Linked DNA regions of Homo sapiens: region 2 is linked to region 1. Evidence: promoter capture Hi-C in 16 types of primary human blood cells and fetal thymus (Javierre and others, 2016). All regions are on one chromosome and are shown on one strand. Each heading gives the region's core, a stretch centred on a gene start or on the middle of the fragment in contact. The rest is flanking DNA. Distances are from core to core; before and after follow the strand shown.

Region 1 (3,480 bases), core at 210-2,709:
GGGCAGTGCCTGTTTGGGGAAGAGGCTACAGACTGTGAAGGCCCCACCTGCCTGGCTCCACCGTTCCTAAGTGAAGAGCAGGTTGCTGGAATGAGCCTGGCTGACACCACCACTGCGTCTCTGCTGTCCCCACGCTTCCCCAGGGCCCCCAGGGCCGGACTGGGTGCTTGTCCTCAGCATGTTCCTCCCCACCCAGACCTGGGGAGCAGGAGCAGTGGAGCCAGTCCTGCCTTGCCCGCCCCCGCTCCATCCCCCGATGAGCATCTGTGCCAGAACCCGCAGGTGTAGATACCTAAAGCCCCCTAGCCTGATGCTTCTGGTCCTGCCTTTGGCCTGGGCGGGGGCGGGGGGTGGGGTGAGGTGAGGTGAGGTGAGGGATGGCATTCAGCGTCACTGCGGGGCAATCAGTGGGCGTGGCCCCACACAGATAGATGGACACAGCTGCTGTGGAGGCAAACAGGGAAAGAAGACGAAACCCTTTTTCTGAGCTGGAGCCTGTCTTGGCTCAGAGAGTCCTCAGGAGCTCTGTCCTTTTACCTGCCGCCATCAACCCCCTGTTCCGCCCAGATAGGCTGATGAATCCCACCACAAATCCAGGAGCCTAGAGCTTGGGGCTGGAGAGCCAGTGGGAGTAGCCAGAAAAGAGTGTGACGGCCAGCTCTCCTTCTTTTCTCCTCCCTGTGGCTGGAAGGAGCCCCAGCGCGTCGCTCCTCTCCCGCCTGTGCCCCTGATGGCGGCCTTGCTCACACCTCTAGCTTCCGTTCTCCCCAGCTGATTCCTGCTGACCCAGCCCTTCCCTGTTCCTTGTTCACCTGACGATGCCCCTGCCCCCACCTCCAGAATCTCCCTTCCCTATCCCAGCCCAGCCCCTGCTCACCCAGAACAGCAGCGCCAATAAAGACACCGCCCATGGCAGCTGCAGCCTTGGATACGGAGATGCCGATAATGATGCTGCCAGCCACCAGCCCGAGAGCCACGCAGGCCAGCTGCAGGCCGCGGAAGTCTCTGCTGCTGATGGGGATGTCCATGCAGGCCCACCCGGGGCACTGCCTCCAGCCGGTGCAGTCTGGCCCCAGAAAAGTCCTGGAAGTTTCTGGGCTCTTGGATGTCTCCTTGTTGGCGCTCCAACTTCAGGGTAGGAGTTTCTGGGCAGTAAGATGATAGGTGGGGAACCCTGGGATTTATCTGCAGTCCTATTCCACTGCTCCACTACGGGCCCCCCAGTCCCACCTTGACCAGGGATCTGTACGAGGTCACCCAGCTTACTCTTCCTCTCTCAAAGCCCTCTGAAGCTGAAGCCCACCCTTGGGACTCCTGTCTGGCTACATTTCTGCTTTGGCTGCCAGAGTTCTAGGGAGCTGGGCCTGTTCCATAGGATCCTTCCCTGCCAGCCTCCACCCAGGAGAGTTCAAGCTCCCCTGCCCAGGACATCCTGCCCCAGCTTCCTAGAGCCACTTACTTGCCACTGAACCTCAGCCTATGAAAATTTAAAGCAATGAGAGGCAGGGTGAGGGGGGAGTTGGTCCAGCGGCCACAGGCTCCTCAGAGATGTAGGCAGCAGGGAGGTGCTGAGTTATTCATGAGGTTGCAATGTGAGTGGCTGTCTGGGTCCCAGGGCCCAGCGGGCAGTCAGCCCAGGTTCCACTGCTGGTTCCTGAGGAGGAAGAACGAGCTGGTGGCTTTGCATGTCGTTCAGAAGCCAGGGATGTGAGGAGACTCCTGATCACATGCTCAGGGCCCGCTGTAATGTGCTCTGCCCTTTGGCCTGGAGGTGCACCTGGGGTCTCTGCTTGGAGTCTGAGATAGACACACAGCAGGAGGCTCAAGAGACAGGAACTGCACCTGGTATGGAAAGCGGACAGGGAGAGGCATCCCTCCAAGTCTGCTCCCTACCCCTGCCCATCCCATCCCCATCCTGTCCACCTCTGGGCTCCCAGGTAGGGCTGAGGGCGTCCTAGTTTGAGGCTTGATCTCAGGGGACTCCCTTGTCCTCAGGTGGGCTTGGTACCCACCCCCCTTTTAGTGGCCAGTGGAATGGAGAGTGAACCCTTCTAGCCACCTTGGGGATCCCGACTGGGAGTGAAAGGGAAGAGCAGTGGTGGTGCTGGTGTGGGCAGGAGGAAAACACCTAAGGGGTAGGGTAGAGAAGAGGACTTGGTAGGGGCTAGGTGCCGGGAGTGGGAGGCTGGGTCATGGTTGGTGCCTTCCCATCCGCTGAACTGAGCACCTGCACCCAGCCTGTCTGAGTTACTTGCAGGATGCCCCACCCCAAGGCTGGGCAGTGGTCACCAATGCAGCCTAGCCCTGAGCCCTGCCCCGGCCCCCAGTTCCAGCCTTTATCATTCATTGCGTTATTTGGCCCTTTATGGATTGGGGACCCCCCAGTCTCAGAATATGGCCCCGGCCTGGCCCTGCACCTGGGCACAATTCCTAGGGTCCCATAATCCTGCTCGGAGTCCCGTCGCCAGCCTCCCTGGCCTCTCTTTGGATGCCCCCTCTCTGCACTGCATCTGCAGTCTCATATTGCCAGGCTCAACTTCTTGTTCCTCCACCTGCCTCCATGGCTGCCCTGTTCTTGTTCTATCTCCTCTGTAGGCTGAGAGCCCCTTGAGGGCAGGTTCCAGGAGTGAGCTCCCCAGAATGCTGTGGCTGGGAGGGACCTGAGCTAGGCTTCTGAACATGAGGACAGAGTTCAGGGAGAGGGCTTGGACTGCACAACCACCTCCAGTCATCAAAGAGGAGGGCTGTGGACACAAGGGAACCTCTGTCTCTAACAAGAGGCATTCCTTGTATGTGGAGAAGGGGGCCTGAGAAGGCCCAGGGTCACCTGAGTTGGAGCTTCGGCTCATGATGAGTCTGTAGAGAGGGGTGACTGCAGCACACAGATGGGCCCTGGACTGTGTTCCTGTTCCCCACAGAGGGAACACCCCTGGAGCTGGGCATTCCCCAGCCACGGTGCTGCTGCCAGCATCTGCTGTGCCTCCTGCCTGGATGAGATCTGATTATTCCTCTAATTAGGCATCAAATCATAGCCCATGTCTCTGTCACACATAATTGATCCCCCACTGACTTAGTTTTAGAAGGAGCCACCAAAATAATTGTCCATGAAACGTGTTCCTTGCTCCTCTCAAAGTCTAAGGCTGAGGGCGACTCTCTCACACCCTCACCAAGATAGAAGCTCTTGGGGCCGCGTTTTCCACCTCGCACTATGGGGCTCGGGCCAGCCATTCCACCTCCCTGAGCCCACTGCCTTGTCTGGTGATGGGGATGGGGGTGGCAGAGGCACCTGTGCACTGCTTCAGATCTCAGAAAACACTGTGATCTCAAAGGAGAGGCACGTTAAGCCTTTTTCAGTTCCAAGATCACAGAACCAGGGCCGTCCCAGCTCTTCATATAGGTGGGGAATCCAAGACATGGGGAGACAGAGGAATTGCCCCAGAGTCCTCATGGATTCTGCCCCTCTGGGAAGTACTCTGGCCT
Region 2 (3,480 bases), core at 311-2,810, 66 kb before region 1:
ATAGTCTGCAGATAGAGTCACCCGCTGAGCACAGATGACAAATCTCCCCAGCGCGGCCTGCGCCCCCATATTTCACGTCAGGGACGTGGTGGTGGCGCAGGCAGCGACAGAGCTGGGCCTCGCCTCGGGTGAAGACGTGGCCTGGTTGGCTGGAAGAAAAGAAAAAAGCCAGACTCCTGGCACATGGTACATCCCCCTGCCTCTACCCTGGGCCCACAGCACCAACCTGGGTGGAGATTTAAGACCAGCCGCCCTGAAGATAGAGTGGGCCTCCTCTGTCTGGACCCCTCAGGAGCTCCTCCCAGGTTCTCAGAGGGCCATGCCTCTCCCCAGCACTCTGTGGGGGCTGACAGTTTGGGAATGCTGAGGCTGGATTTGAGAGAAGAGTGAACAAGGAGGTGGGGGCTCTTTCCTGGTTTGAAGGCCAGTTACCCCAGGTGTACACAGGCATGTTCACACATGTGCCACACTCAGGCCTTTCCCAGGCCTCCTTGTACACACAAGGGGCACACTTAGTCCTCAGTGCACACAAACATAAGGCAATCTCTCGGCACATGTATGTAGGGGGACACACTTGACCCCCCTACCATGTGTGAATGTACACAAACGTATGACACTTGGCTTTATGCAGTCAGACACACACTTGCGTGTTCCCCAAGTGAAGGGGTGCACATCCAGTCCCTTCACACAGACCTGTGTAGTACATCTAAAGCACCAGGCCACATCCTCTCTACCCAGAGAATTCCTTCAAAAAATTGACTTCTGTCTGGGACCATCAAATAGTCACTCTGCCTTTGGGGATGAGAACGTGTACCATACTCATATTACATATACAGATTCAGGCCGGGCACGGTGGCTCATGCCTGTAATCCCAGCACTTTGGGAGGCTGAGGCGGGTGGATCACTTGAGGTCATGAGTTCAAGACCAGCTTGGCCAGTATGGTGAAACCCCATCTCTACTAAAAATACAAAAATAAATTAGCTGGGCGTGGTGGCAGACGCCTGTAATCCCAGCTACTCAGGAGGCTGAGGAGGGAGAATCACTTGATCCCGGGAGATGGAGGTTGCAGTGAGCCAAGATCGTGCCATTGAGCTCCAGCCTGGGTGACAGAGTGAGACTCCATCTCAAAAAAAGAGAGAGAGAGAGAGAGATCCAGATCCAGCCAAAAGCCCTCTTACACATCTGCCTCTCCAGGTGGGAGGAGCATTGCTTAGTGGGAACTCCTTATCTCTTGGTCTCCTTTACTTCCCAGAGCAAGTGCAACCGGAGAGGAAGCCCAGGCCTTGGCCTTCCTGCAGTCAGCCTGCCTAGACGTGGGTTGGGGGGCTGGAACTATGCTCAGGAGCGCCTGAGCCATTGCCCCCTAGCTGGCACGGGGTGAGTGGAGTTGAAGGCCACCTTACCTGCCCTTCACAGTACAGTTACTTGTGGGCAAGAGTGGTCAGAAGAAACTCAGCATGCTCAAAGGCACTACAGGAGACCCCCCACTCCAAAGCTGCGAATAAATAGGGTTTTCCAATCTCTGCTGGGGGTGGCTGGCGGGAGGAGGGTGGAGAGGGCAGAAATGAGGAGGTCCTCTGGGTGTCAGCAAGTTCTCGAGGTGAGAAGGAGATGGGTCAGGTAGCATTGGGGGAAAGGCTGGGAGTATTGGGGGAAAGGCTGGGAGCACGTGCGGTATTTGAAGAACCGGGGTTGGAGGGTGGGAGTGGAGCAGGTAGCGGCTGGAGTAAGGGAAGGAAGGAACGTGCATGCAACTAACAGGGTGTGTGTGTGTGGTGGGGGCGGGGGTGACTTTTGGGTGGTCGGAGAGGGTCAGGAACAAGCGGGGGTATCTCTGAGCGGTGAAGGGGAGTAGCCGTCGGAGGGCGGGGACAGAGCGGTAGCTGCCTTGCGCTGGGATTGGGGGTGGGGGTGGGAGTGGGGAGGGCTCTTTAAGCGGCGGCCGCGCTAATAACCTGTCCAGGAGATGGCTCGTGGCAAATTGCTTTGTTAGTCTTGTCAGCGCGGCCGGGGCCGCCGTCAGCGCGCGCCATGGATCAAGATGATGAATCGCTGCGGACGGCGCAGATGCGGGCGGCCCGCGGCCGGGCCCCCGGGTAGGGGTGGGAGGTGGAGGGGGCCGCGGGGGGCCCGGCCGCCGCCATTAACTCCGGAATTAGGTCTAAGCCGCCCACCACCCAGCCACTGCCCCGGGGAGCGCCAGCCGTTGGGGCGGGAGCGGGCCCAGGATGGGGACTGAGACCCGCGTCCCCCACCCGAACCTGGACCTAGCCTCCTCTGAACGCAGAGGGCAGTGGGCCGCCCGGAAGGGGCGGGGAGGGGCCCCGGCCCTCAAGCCGCACAGCCAGGTGTTCCCGCTCTTCGAGGACATCCCCTGCCCGCCTGGAGGTTGAGAGGGCGGCCGCATGGGGCATTCGCCAACCCCTCTCACCCGCCCCAAACCCTCGCTGTGAGCTGCTAGGGAGCCTTCGTGGGGGTGGAGGGGGAAGCTAAGGAGAAACAGAGAGAGAGGGACAGACAGACAGACAGACAGACAGACAGACAGACAGACAGACAGACAGAGTTGGGGTGTGAGTAGGGTGGTTGGGTTTGACATTGCTACTCTAAACTGAGCTCAGAGACCAGCGATGGTGGGGCTGGGGCCTGCCCTGGGACTTCAAGGGGACCTAGGCCCCTAAAGTGGTTCCGGGCAGACAGCTGGGACCCTGCGTTCTTTGCATTTCCAGACCAGTTGGAAACGGTGAGCACCTAGTTTTCCCAAGTTCCTAAATTAACTCACCCCTTACCCACCTCCCCCTTGGTCCAACTTAGAAACATCTCCCCCCAAAACACACACACACCACACGCACACCTAGGAATTTACAAACTCACACAATCCACATAAGCACAGTCTACATTCACATGTAAACGTGTATACGCATATATTACACACAAATATAGGAGTATATACTTAAATGTATTCATATACTCATAGCACAGGAAAATGAATTCGAACAAATATAAAACCACATCCAGAAATGCACCACTGCCTGCACTCCTAGTCCCAGCAGCCCAGGAAAGTCTACTGGGGACAGGTCCCCAGTTCCTCAGGGGATGCCTTTCTTTTAAGCCCTTTGAAGGCGTCAGCAACAGCCCTGGGCAGGCAGGTGGGGAGACTCCAGGAGGAAGGCCCTGAACTATTTCCACTTATTGATTCCTGTCTAGACGGTGGCACTTTCAAAATGGCTTTGTGAAATCACTAAAACCCACCCACATTGTGGCACATCAAGCTTCCCATCACTCAGGCCTCCCTAAAGGACGTGTTCCCTTTCCCTGTTTGGTCCTGTTTCCCTCCGGACTTTCCATCTCAGCAAGAGAGCTTGCTAGGGATTTTTGTTTTTCCCTCAAACTTTGTCCCCACACCCAGAAATCTACAACCAGCCGTGAATGCAGCCCTTGGGCTGCAATGTCTGTGAAAGTGTGTGGGGGTAGGAAGTGAG

The links. The method cuts DNA at HindIII sites, captures the fragments that hold promoters and counts their contacts. A CHiCAGO score of 5 or more calls a contact.
Region 2: a contact is called between a fragment that was not itself captured here and the fragment with the promoter of KNCN in region 1, in 1 of 17 cell types (M1 macrophages). The highest score is 6.1, in M1 macrophages.

Annotation. Positions count from the first base shown.
Region 1 is chr1:46,550,188-46,553,667 of GRCh38, forward strand. It overlaps KNCN (kinocilin), which reads right to left and starts at 1,460. Exons shown (of 4, transcript NM_001322255.2): 1 at 878-1,460. The coding sequence starts at 1,028. The region is part of intron 3 of MKNK1-AS1 (MKNK1 antisense RNA 1); the gene reads left to right. RefSeq lists an enhancer at 1-222. The HindIII fragment of the contact is 11,434 bases long and covers 1-3,480 here.
Region 2 is chr1:46,483,673-46,487,152 of GRCh38, forward strand. No RefSeq gene overlaps it. Among named protein-coding and RNA genes, the nearest start is that of DMBX1, 4.4 kb to the right of the region's middle. RefSeq lists an enhancer at 1,829-2,376. The HindIII fragment of the contact is 3,415 bases long and covers 1-3,268 here.